Linked DNA regions of Homo sapiens: region 2 is linked to region 1. The links are contacts of gene promoters, found by promoter capture Hi-C in blood cells and fetal thymus (Javierre and others, 2016). All regions are on one chromosome and are shown on one strand. Each heading gives the region's core, a stretch centred on a gene start or on the middle of the fragment in contact. The rest is flanking DNA. Distances are from core to core; before and after follow the strand shown.

Evidence for each region. Contacts are between HindIII fragments. The CHiCAGO score rates a contact against its expected background, and 5 or more counts as called.
Region 2: the fragment with the promoter of HECTD2 here is called in contact with a fragment that was not itself captured in region 1 in 7 of 17 cell types (non-activated CD4 T cells, total CD4 T cells, naive CD8 T cells and 4 more); the score reaches 12.8 in non-activated CD4 T cells.

What each region holds. Positions count from the first base shown.
Region 1 is chr10:92,844,851-92,851,095 of GRCh38, forward strand. It overlaps EXOC6 (exocyst complex component 6), which reads left to right and starts at 3,670. Exons shown (of 22, transcript NM_019053.6): 1 at 3,670-3,784. The coding sequence starts at 3,684. RefSeq lists silencers at 3,487-3,636, 3,777-4,116. The HindIII fragment of the contact is 2,554 bases long and covers 2,668-5,221 here.
Region 2 is chr10:91,407,882-91,413,913 of GRCh38, forward strand. It overlaps HECTD2 (HECT domain E3 ubiquitin protein ligase 2), which reads left to right and starts at 2,463. Exons shown (of 21, transcript NM_182765.6): 1 at 2,463-2,695. The coding sequence starts at 2,558. The region is part of intron 3 of HECTD2-AS1 (HECTD2 antisense RNA 1); the gene reads right to left. RefSeq lists an enhancer at 1,870-2,079 and a silencer at 2,230-2,819. The HindIII fragment of the contact is 4,522 bases long and covers 1-3,310 here.

The DNA.
Region 1 (6,245 bases), core at 2,695-5,194:
CCCTGAGGCCTGACATCTAGTAAGAGATGAGTTGGAATTTGAATTCAAGTAGTTAAATGCCAGACCAGAGCAGTTGCACTCTACAACCTCATTCTGAGGGAGGCGCTTTCCCAAGACAGGTCATTAGTCTGTAGATAAAAGGCGCAAAGTTAAGTTCCTAATGACTAAGAGTTTATTTACAAGTCAAATCCTTACTTTGCCAATTACTTTTATACTGGACACAAAATGCATCTCCTGTCCTGCTGGTCTTCCTGGTGTATCTTTCTTCTTCCAGGAGTCCTGAAAAGAGATTTTGGATTGATCTCTGGAAGTCAATATCCACTGCCAAAAAATAATTCCACATGCATCTGCAATCTGCCTGTCTGTGCCCTGCTACTCCGCAACCTTCTCAGTGCAGACGTTAAATCATTCACTCCTTGGGGCTGGGCGTGGTGGCTCATGCCTGTAATCCCAGCACTTCAGAAGGCCAAGTCAGGGCAATCACTTTAGGGAAGGAGTGTGAGACCAGCCTGGCCAACATGGTGAAAGCCCATCTCTACTATAAATACAAAAATTAGCTGGATGTGGTGACATGTACCTGTAATCCCAGCTACTCAGGAGACTGAGGCAGGAGAATCGCTTGAAAGCGGGAGGCAGAGGTTGCAGTGAGCCAAGATCGCACCACTGCACTCCAGCCTGGGCAACAGAGAGAGACTCCATCTCAAAAAAAAAAAAAAAAAAAAATCATTTATCCCTTGGATAGGCTTCCCCCACCCCACATTGACATATTTGATATATCTATGTCCATGATTAAAATGTACAGTTAGGGCCGGGGACGGTGGCTCACGCCTGTAATCCCAACACTTTAGGAGGCCGAGGCGGGCAGATCACCTGAGGTCGGGAGTTTGAGACCAGCCTGACCAACATGGAGAAACCCAGTCTCTACTAAAAATACAAAATTAGCTGGGCGTGGTGGCACGTGCCTGTAATCCCAGCTACTCCGGAGGCTGAGGCAGGAGAATCACTTGAACCCAGGAGGCGGAGGTTGCAGTGAGCCAAGATCACGCCATTGTTACCCAGCCTGGGTAACAAAAGCGAAACTCTGTCTCGAAAAAACCAACCAAACAAACAAAACAAATGTGCAATTAGTTATTTAGGACATTTAGCTTTGAATTCTTAGCTAAAACCTCCAGGTACTCACGGAACTGTCAGAAGTCTCAGAGGGAACCAGCAAAAACTGTTTCAGAAGGAGAAGTGGTAAATGGACTTCCTTCCATGTTCACTTGAATTTCGGGGAAGATACTGCTGCTTATGTTGAAGTAATCTCTATGGGCAGGTGTTGAAACAGGGCTGGCCTGAGGAGTGCCTAAGCAGGGCTGGTTTCCCAGAGCAGGGGCACTTGGAGCCAGCTTTGGAATAAAAGGTATCAGGACTGGTGAAGAAAAGGGGTAGAGTTCTAGGGAAGGAATGATCAGGAAAGTAATTCCCCAGCTGGAGACATTGGTCAAATAGGAAACTGGCCTGTGCCACATGCCCTGCTCTCCTCATTTTGCTCATTATCATAGTTCACCGCAGCCTCGAACTCCTGGGCTCAAGCAATCCTCCTGCCTCAGCCTCCCAAAGCTCTGGGATTATAGGTGTGAGCCACTGTGCTCGACCTAAGAAGTTCTTGAGAGGGGAAAATAACCTTTTGAAAATTGAAACTGAAACATAAAAAAAAGAAGACAAATTTTATCCCCTCCCACAAAAAGAATGAAAAGCTAGGTCTCTCTGCAGGAAATGGAAGACTGTCTTAGCTCAATGGATGTGTATAGCTGGAATCCATTGCTCTGAAGATTCCAGATTAATAGGAAGGAGGGCATTAGCAATGTTTTATAGGGCCCTTCCTAAGTTTGGTAGGCAGTGGGTCCCACTGATGCTCACATTCTAATCCCTGGAACCTGTGCATATGTTATTTTTACATGACAAAGGGGGTATTGCATATGTGATTAAGGTTAAGGACCCTGAGATGGAAGATTATCCTGGATTAAATGGTTGGGTCCACTCTAATCATATGGGTCCTTAAAAACTGAGCATCTTTTCCAGCCTAAGTCAGAGTCAGAGGAAGATGTGACCACAGAAGAATGGTCAGAGAGATGTAATGCTGCTAGCTTTGAAGATGGAGGAAGGGGGCCACAAGCCAAGGTATGTGGGTGGCCTCTAGAAGCTGGAAAAGGCAAAGAAACAAATTCTCCCGCAGAGTCTCTAGCAAGGAACACAGACATGCTGACACCTTGATTTTTAGCCCAGTGAGACCTGTGACAGACTTCTAACGTACAGAACTGTAAGATAATATGTCTGAGTCATTTTAAGCTACTCAATTTGTGGTGATTTGTTAAAGCAACAATGGAAAACTCATACACCATGGGACAGCAATATGAGGCAGACACTGCCATTGTCATTTACAGTCATTTAACTGACATATAAAAGAACTAGGTTCTTGCCCAATGTCACACAGCTGTCAAGTGATATTAATCCAAGAATTAATGTCTTCGGACACTGGTCTTCAGAGCTCATGCTCTAACTATTGCACAATACCACCTCCCAGGATGTTTGTGGGGAGGAGGCTGGAGGTAGGTTTCAAGTAAAAGCTCACTAAGGGTGAGTGAGTTACACAGCTGGATAAAGAGCTTGGTTGACTCAAAGGGAAGCTTTTCAAAGCCCTGGATTAATGTAGAGCAGAAAGTAGTTGTTCCTCAGGCTAGGTTTCCATTCTGTTCCTGTTTAGTCTTCCTTCCTCCCTGCTTTGATCATGACAAACTGGTTTACTCAGTGTCCCACAAACATGTCATTAAGCACGACTTTTTTCTACACTGATACCTTTGTCCAAGCCTCCCTGCCTCTCTCTCCCACCTCCCTGCTGCTAACCCCCTTTCAAGAGCTCTCACCCCTTCTCAACCCAGCTACTCTGACCTGGGGGCACCTGAGTTCACGGACTTTGGTATGAATTACACATCGCCCTGGGCCTTTTTTTTTTTTTTTTTTTTTGGTATCTCTGCCATCAAGTGTCTTAACTTCTCATCATTTAATTTTTTATGTCGCTTATAATTTATTTCCAAGTTGACTGGCCGCTGTGGACTTCTTGCAGGCGGGGACATGAATCCACCTGGAGCGGTCTTCATGGTCAACTGGGATCTTTATTCGTTCCTAAAATAAATCTTACTATCACATGCAATTTTGCTTTTCGTGAGTGCATGTTTTCCTTTCTCTGACTCCCCACGACCCAGAGTACATCAGGCCCTTGTTAAATGTCCCCGTGGCTCTTATTACAGATTCAGGGTGATGATCTGAGTGTCCACCTTGCTGATTACTACGGTACCCCCGCGTGTGGCACAGGGTGTGGCACACACAGAAGACAAGGAGATATGTTAAAGCCCAAAGGCCAGGCACAAGACGCCCAGGAGGGACTAGTCGCGAGAGAGGGCAGGAGGCCAGCTGGGTACCCGGCCGCCGCCCGTAGCCCCAGCTCACAGCCCCCGCTCACTCCTGCAGGTGCGGGGGCGGGAACCGGGTCGCGCGCCTTCTGCCCGGCGTTCCGCGCGCCCCCGCGCCGCCGGCCCGAGCGCCCCGCCCCCGCCCCGCCCCTTCGCGCTCGCGCCACTTGGAGCTCGCCCCCGTCGTTCCCGCGGCGCCGCGCCTCGCTGGCTCCTCAGCTTCCAGCCAAAATGGCGGAGAACAGCGAGAGTCTGGGCACCGTCCCCGAGCACGAGCGGATCTTGCAGGAGATCGAGAGCACCGACACCGCCTGTGTGGGGCCCACCCTCCGGTAAAGATCTCATCCCACCGGGACTTCGGCCCCCCGCCCCACGCCGGCCGCTCCTCACGAGCCGGGCGGGGCGTCCGCCGCCGGCCGCGCGCGAAGCTCCCCGACAGGTGGTGCGCGCGGGGGCGGGCGGGGGCGCTCGCGGGTGGCGGAACTCTAGCCGGTACCCGGGCGGGACCGAGAAGGCGGCTGCACCTGTCGGCGCGGCCTGCCTCCACCGCTGTAGCTGTCACCCCGCAGCCGGTGGGTGTGGCTGCTGCAGGGTCTCTAACCCCGGGCCCCGCGCTGCGGCCCCGCGTTCTCCTCCTGGCTGCGGCCCCCGGGCCCGAGGACACTTCTGGGGCCTGCCCCCGTCTCGCTCGTGGTGGGGCTGAGGGCTGCTCGGCCGCGGGCATGCCAGGCTAGGGTCGACAGCAGGCACCCGGCGTGACGGAGGTGCCAGGTCGCGCGCGGGTGGAAAGCCTGGCGCGCCGGGCTGCCGCGGGCGTGGGAGAATTGAAATTGAGCGGGAGACGCCGGCCCGCTTTCCCCCTACTCCCCCGCGCGGCCGCAGTGGGCGAGAAGAGAGCGTGGGCTGGAGAAGAGAGCGTGGGCTGGAGGAGAGCAGCTGCTTGCTGCTTGGGAACACGCTAGGGTGACCCTGCGCTCGCGGGATCTAAGCTGCTTTGGAGGCAGAACAGCTTTTACTTATTTACAAACATTTCATTAAAATTGCATTAATTTTTCCGTTTAAATCGAGTTCCTCCCCATTCATTTTAAGAATAGTACTAGGTAATGCATATTCCATGCCAAACTGAGTACCTGCTGTTCCAATAGAATATTATTAGCCAGGCAACGTAATGAGCCATGGGTTAGGTTAGGCACTGTCTTCAAGAATAAGTTCCTTTTACATATAAGGTTTCATCTTTTGGAGTGATAATAATGATAAATGAAGTTATTATTCACTTAGGGAACTTGAGACTGATTATGCTTTATCATTAGTATTCTTCAGAATACACTTCCTAGAATAGAGCGCTGTACAGTTTGTGGACCTGTGAATATAGTGTAAATTGAAGCCAGTTCAAGTTATGTAAATACACCTTGCCCTTAAGAGTCAGGAGGCCTGGGTTCTTGTTTTGCCCTAATTCTGCCTCTGATGAAATGTGCAGTCATGGAAAAAAATTATTTAACCTCTCTGGATCTCGGTTTCCTTATTTGTAGAATGGGGAGGGGAGAGTATTCAGATGCCCAGGAAACTCAGAACATTAGGGACCTTGCCTATTTGTTCACTACTGTATCCCTAACACCAAGCATGTGGTAGGCATGTTATAAATTTTTGTCACATAAGGTTTCTGCTATGATATGATAATGCATAATTAGTGCATTTCCTTAATTTTCCAACATTATTATTTCTTTTAATAAACTGTATACTTGGTAATGAAAGAAGTAAGATTAAAAGGAAGCTTTGTTTTCATCACTGCATCTTGAAACTGAGAGTGCAGTGTGTGATAAAGTTACTAGAGTAGTTTATTTGTGAAAATAGTACTGGTTATGAAGGAGGTGCTTCATCTTAGGAAAATGTGCTAGGTAGTGTCCTTGAAAAAAGATGAAATTAACTTAGAAGAAAAATTTGAAATATATTGAGAGATTTTTGGGACACTCAGGAACAGAATATGTGTATTCATAGTGTTATTCTGTTCTTTTTTGCTGGGCAGTTGTTTCAACTGGCTCATTTTGTTTGAACCCACTCTCTTTTCTTTAGCAATCCCTGGTGACTCATACTTATCCCATATATATGTATATTTGTGTCTCATTTATAAGCAGACGCTTTTTGCACACATATAGAGGGTACTGCTAGCAGTCTTTTCTCTTGAACATTGTTTAAGCTACTACTATTTTTTCCCTTTTTTTTCAGGTTTCACGAAGTGAAGTGTTAATATTGCATTTTTAAAAACCATTTATTATGGAAAAATTTTAAATGTTTAAAAAAGTAAAATAGTGTAATGAACCACCATGAACTGTCATCTAGCTTCAATTCATTCCCTGGCCAGTCTTGTTTGATCTCTTCCCTTATCTACTCCCTATCATCTTGGATTATTTTGAAGGAAATCCAAGACATCAATTTATTCATAAATATTTTAGTATTAAGATTAATTTTTGTTGTTATTTCCTAATTATCTTTTAGCTGGCCTGTAGACTTATCATTTTATTTATATTGTTTTTTCTCAGCGGCGGGATTTTTCAGCCTGATCTTTTCCTGAGAAGCACGTGATAAACTTTCCGCAGGCCCTGACATATAACATGGTTCTTTGACCACAACAGAAGTATATTAGAAATCAGTAGTTAAAAAAAACAAAAAAACAAAAACTATCTGGAAAATTCCCAAATATTTGGTCATTGACTAACACACAAAAAATAAATCAAAAGAGAAATTAGAAAGTATTTTAAACTGAGTAAAATGAAAACACAGCATATCATTTGTGAA
Region 2 (6,032 bases), core at 1,213-3,712, 1.4 Mb before region 1:
GGCATAGCTAAAAAGCATCTTCTCCACACCTCTGTACAGAATGGCCAGAGCTCTCTGTATGTCCTGCTTTACAACACTCTCTTCTCCCACCTGGGTCTCCAGAAGCACACTGATGGCAGTTGGGAATGTGTCTCTCAAGCACACCACGAGTTCCCCCAGAGCTATAATTCTACAGCTTTCCAGCAGGCCCCATTCCCATTCTCCAGCCCCCTCCTGGACTATGTATGAGGGAGGGATGAGGTGGTGGATTGAGGACATTTATTTAATAAGAAGTCAAAGGAAACATGAACAAATTATCATTTTTTACATGGAACTCACAAGCTAATTAATCAGAGAATTTGTTAAGAAATGGGTTATCTACTCTGGTGCAGTAGCAGAAATTAACATTTTTGACTTGCCTTGTTTTGCCAATATTTAAGCAGTTTGTTCTATTGAATGTGACTACATGTACAGACACACTTTTATTTAGTCTCACACATGAAAAAAGAAAGCAGAAGGCCTGTTATCCAAGTGGTTTCTCATCCAAACATTTTTATAGCAAATTACTAAATCTAGTTGAAAACAATAGGAAAGAGGATACTTTTCCCTCTAGTATTTGTTCTATCAACCTAGACTTAGCACAGAATATCTGAAATTGCAGCTAAAATAAAGGCTTCATTTTATAAAATAACATTTGAGTTGTTCCTGTATCCATGATCAGCATACAGACCTGCTAAAAGCAGAAAATAATGTTATGTTCCTCTCTATGGGATGAGTATTTCAGTAGTTTTAAGGAAAGAAAATCCTGAAAAAGAATTTAGAAAAATATTAATAGAAAGGAGGAGGATGCTTCAAAGTAATGCCGACATACATCATTTTCCCTCCAAGGCTATTAGCACTGAAATACTTTTTGCTGACTATATGGCACTTATTCTATACCTTTTGTTAATTAACAAGTAAATAGGTGGCAACAGCAACTATATTAAAGTAGAAAGCCTTTCTATAAATGAAAGTCAGAATTCAAAATTTAGAAGGCAACATTGTTTGCTTCAGATCTACTTGTTACAAATTGTGGGTTTGAAAACATGCAACCTTATCTCATGATGCACCATAACTAGTATTTAGTTATACTAATAACTCCAAATTATGTAAACAATAGATACCCCGAAATCATATTTGGGTTTGTTTCAGAGATATTTTTGGTTCTTATATTTGGACTTAGGTACTCTTGATCTAAAAATTCACTCAACCTCCAATAAAATAATGAAGGCACAGATAAAAAATCTGATAGAGCTGAATATCGAAATTCCTTGCTTTTAACAGGCGATACAGCGCATTCTTACTCTCTTTTCTCCTAGATCAGCAGGTGTCCCCGCCGCTCCAGTAGACTGAGAAAAAGGAAAAGGAGGGGGCGACAAGAAAGGAAAGGAAATTGTCTAGGTGTCCTGGTGGTGGAGGTGGGGGGTATTTTAATTTCATAATTAAAAGCTCTCTTCTTCGGCTTTCAAGTTTTTACTCCTATTTGTAATGATTTGATTGAGGACTGTGCAGCAGAGTTTGGGTATGTACATCTCTAACATAAACGGAAAGGAACAAGGAAGGGACGGATAGGAGACAGCAAAGGGTTGCGGGGAGAGAGCAAAACGTAGGCGCGTGGGGACGGGAAGGGAGAGGCGGATTTGGCAGTCAAAGAGGGACGAGAGGAACAGGAATGGAAAGTGTGGACTGGCCGTCCAATCCTATGGGGGAAGGGGAAAGGGGGGGCCCACCACGTCGCACTCCTCCCCACCTCCAGGCTTTTCCTGTGTAGGCTGAAGCCATCCAGGCGTGTACAAAAGAGTCGGTTGCTGAGCCAGGAAGGCTGTCTCCCCGGGCTGCGCAAGCTCCGGGCCGCCTCTCCTGGGCTCAGGAGGGCGGGCAAGGATAAGAAGGCAGAAGCCCCAAGGCGGACAGCTTTGTGGGCGCCTGGAAGAAGGCGAAAGGCCACCAGCCCAGACCCCGAGGGCGCTTGCCCGCGGGACTCGGCGCCGCAGGCCAGGGCCGTCCGTGAAGGGTAGTCTGTGCCTACGTCCTGCCCTACTGGTACCACTCGGACACTCTATCCCCGTCCGACCCTTTGCAGGGCTCGACTTGTCTCCCCGACTGCCCGTCCTTAGTCCAGGTTCTCCTGCGCGGCCCGGGTGCGGGGTCTCCTCGTCATCTCGGGCGACACTCTGCAAACAATATGGCGGTCGGGCGTCGACCGTGGCGCCTTCTCTCCGGGCCCTCGGGGTTGACGAGGGGGACTACCGCCGGCGCTCCCGACCCGCGACGCGCGAGCCCCGGGCGGGCGGGGGAGGCGAGAGCAAGAAACCTGTGGGACCTGTGGGGAGCCGCGTCCGCGGGGCTGGCGCGCGCGGGGGCGGCCTCGGGCTCGCGCGCAAAGGCGCGGGCGCGGGCGGGGGCGGAGTGGCGGCGGCAGCGGCGGCTAGAAGCGGCAGCCCAGAGCCCTCTCGCGGCCGCGGCGGCAGCAGCAGCGCCAGCCCCAGCAACACTGAGGCCGCCGCCGCCGCCTGGCGCTCCCGCCGCCCGGCCCGACATGAGTGAGGCGGTTCGGGTACCCTCGCCCGCCACTCCGCTGGTGGTGGCGGCGCCCGCGCCTGAGGAGAGGAAAGGGAAGGAGTCAGAGCGCGAGAAGCTGCCGCCCATCGTATCGGCGGGCGCCGGCGCGACCGCGGTAGGTGGTGGGCCGGGGCCGTCTGGCGCCCCGGACGGCGGGAGTTGGGAGGGACGGCGGCCGGGCGAGGGCCGTCAGGAGGCCTGCGTTTACCCTGGGCACGCCCTGGCACTCCAGGGAGACGCACTCAGGCCGCCCTTCCTTGGGCAGAAATAAAAGAGTTGTGCCTCGTGGACAGCCCCGAACACTTCGCGAGGTACACCTACCACCCTCGGGAAATGTTGGGGGTGGTCGGTTCCGCTGGATGTTTGGGTTATTTTCTGGGGCTTGGGCCCCCACTTTCTCTAAGAGAATGACCTGCATCTTGAGTCGGCATGATCTGTTGGATGAGCATAGGTGTCAGCAGGCGGGAGTGGGTTTTCCACGGAGGTGCCTGCCTGCCTGCCTGCCTTGGAGGCGCGCAGATTTTTGTCCTTTTCTTCGCTTTTCTTTCCCTTCCCCCTTCAGATTAAACAGGCTCTGCGGCGAGTTTCCACTTAATTGTGACCTTTCCGTTGCTGTCAGTGTAGTGGGAGGTAGATGCATCAGTGATGGTTTTATTTTTCATATGGTACAGACATGTGACTCAGGTGGGGGGAGGCTTTTTGAACCTTTTATTTAAACCCAAGTTATCTAAGCTTGACAGGGATGATTTCCCAGCTGTATCTTCGTAAGGGTTATTTGGAGAGCGCTGTCAGGCTTCAAACTACATATTGCCAGATGATGTCATGGGACAGCCCCCTCCCCCTCTTTCCCTATTTTTACTGGTGGTTGTGACTGGTTAATTTGAAGCACAATTTAAAAAAAAACCTCGGATTTTGCAATTTTTTATTTTGACATAATATTTAAGTACTTTTTGAAAGTTTGCTTTGATATATTTAAAGATCATGACTTGTCATGCAGCTGTGTGTGACAAAATAGTAAAAGTTTAGTGAACATTATACATTTTCTTTATTCCTACTTGCGGTTCATTTCTTAAAACCTCCCTCTTAAATGACTAAGAACTTACTAAAATAGCTCACTCTTCGTTAAGTACTGTATTGGTGTTAGGAATAATTTTCGGATTCGGTAGGTTTTTCAAAAATGTCTGAGGGCCCTGATAACTGGAAATTGTTAAAACAAGCTCTTTAAATCAATGCAGCAAATTGCGAACAGTAATGATACACGTTTAAAAGCGTAGCTACAATTGATTGGTAGATTGGAGCTGGGGTTAGGGATTACCCTAGAAAATGCTTTGAAGGAATTTGTCACCCAGCTGCTTGGAGACCTGGTTCCTGCTGCTGGTACCCTAGGTTTTCAGATTTTATATAGGAAGTCTTTAACTCACAGAATTCCAGCAGTTCATTTCTAAGTTGGTTGTTTAAAACAGTAAATGTATGTACTTATAGAAACAGTTAAATGAGTGGGTTTAGGTCCTCAAGCAAACGCTCTCCCAAAAACCTATTCATCTCATAACTGAAAAATTGCCGTTTTGGAATTTGCAAGTGTGGATACAAGTCTACAGTCTGCTTTGGGATTTCAAGTTTTTCAGATTTTAGAAAGGTAATTCGGTACATATATCATATATTATTTAATACCCACAGTAAGGTCCTAGCCAGTTCTCTCTAATCAACCATCTTAATAACTGTAATGAAATTATGTGTTCATGCTAAAGGGAAAAAGTCAGTAGCGTCATGTCATTTCAGATTAGGTGCATGTTTTTGCCACCAAATGAGTTGCAAAGACACTTCAGTTTCAAGAATTTATAGGACTTTGAAATTGTAAATAGAGGATTATGGACTTGTACTACTAGACAAAGAGAAGAATATATTCAAGAAAAAAATTTAAATCTTGAATTAAACTTTGAAAAGGTATGAGTTGGAATAGAAGAGGATAAGGATAAATATACAAAACTTGAGGGTTTTTTTTTTTTCTTTTTGAGACGGAGTCTTGCTCTGTCGCCAGGCTGAAGTGCAGTAGCCTGATCTCGGCTCACTGCAATCTCTGCCTCTCGTGTTCAAGCCATTCTCCTGCCTCAGCCTTGCTTGTGCCTTATAAAGTCTTTCAGAGTCAGTACCATTGATTATTTATTTTTTAAAAAAAAAAACAATTTATGACAGGATCTGTGGCAGAATGTGTGTGTGTGTGTGTGTGTGTGTGTATTTGTCAAAGAGAGACTTCAAAGCTAGAATTCAGAGCTAATAGCAGTGAAAAGCTTAAGTGTAGAAAATCTATGCTTGGTCCTTAGTCCATCCAAAGGATAAGAAATCCAGGAGAACTGGGGTGGTGATTGACTTTTACAGCAGCTAGGAAGGCCTTGGTATGTGTGGGGAGGGGGAGGAGGTCTTGATGTGTGAGGTAGGTGGGCAGGGAAATACAGCTTGTGGCCTCTTGAGTTGTTTTTCAGCCTCCTGTAGATTAAATAGAGCTCCTAGAGGTTTGCTTAGGAACCTAATTGTCATCAATAACTTTTTCTTTGAGACATTCCAGTGATTGTTCCTTTTTGCCCCAGCCTAATGGTTCTGCCTGTCTAGTTTGTGTCTATGACTCAATTCGTGACCCTACAATAGTGGCTTTTTCAGAAAATCATTGTACCACATTTATAAATGAATATATATGAATAAAATAATATAAATATTATCAATAAGTAGAAGGTCAGTTTACAGTGACCCTAAATAAGGTTGAAGAGTTAGGCTGTATCCTTTATGTTTACAGAAAGGTACAGGGGTGGGAGAAAGAATGCTGGAAAGGGCAGCCCTGAAGTGTTTTATCCTAAGACCATCTAAACGTGAAGGAAGTCCATTCCAGCTAGTGAGGAGGTGCCTAACACAGTGGTTTCAAGCCTGACTGACCACAGAGTTACCTTGGTAGCATATTAAAGTCCTCATTCCTACATCTCACCCTAGAGCACCTGTTTTCAACCTTAGATGCACAGTAGAATTAACTGAGAAACTTTTAAAGCCATCATTATCCAGGCCCAAATGCAGTATTGTTAAATCAGAATTTCTGGGGATGTTGCTCAGGCATCTTTTTTAAATTTAATTCCCTGGGTATACCAAGATTGAAACTTGACACTCTATATACTGAATCAAAAGCTCCATGGGCAAGGTGTAGGAATCTGTATTTTTTAATTACCATCTCCCAAATCTACTTAGTTTGTGGAGCAGCGTTTGAAATGGACTTGTGACAGGTATGGATGAAGTGAACAAGAGACAGTAGAAATCAGGCGTGGTGGGGAATTGAAAGAAATGGCAGTGGCAGTGGTTCCAGTTAGAGATTCTCAAGAGGCTCAAGATGGAGCCCTCAGAGACTTTCAGTGTTTGGGTCTTGGCCTTGCTGCTGTGGAGAGGTGATGCAAATCCATGGAGTCAAACAGAAT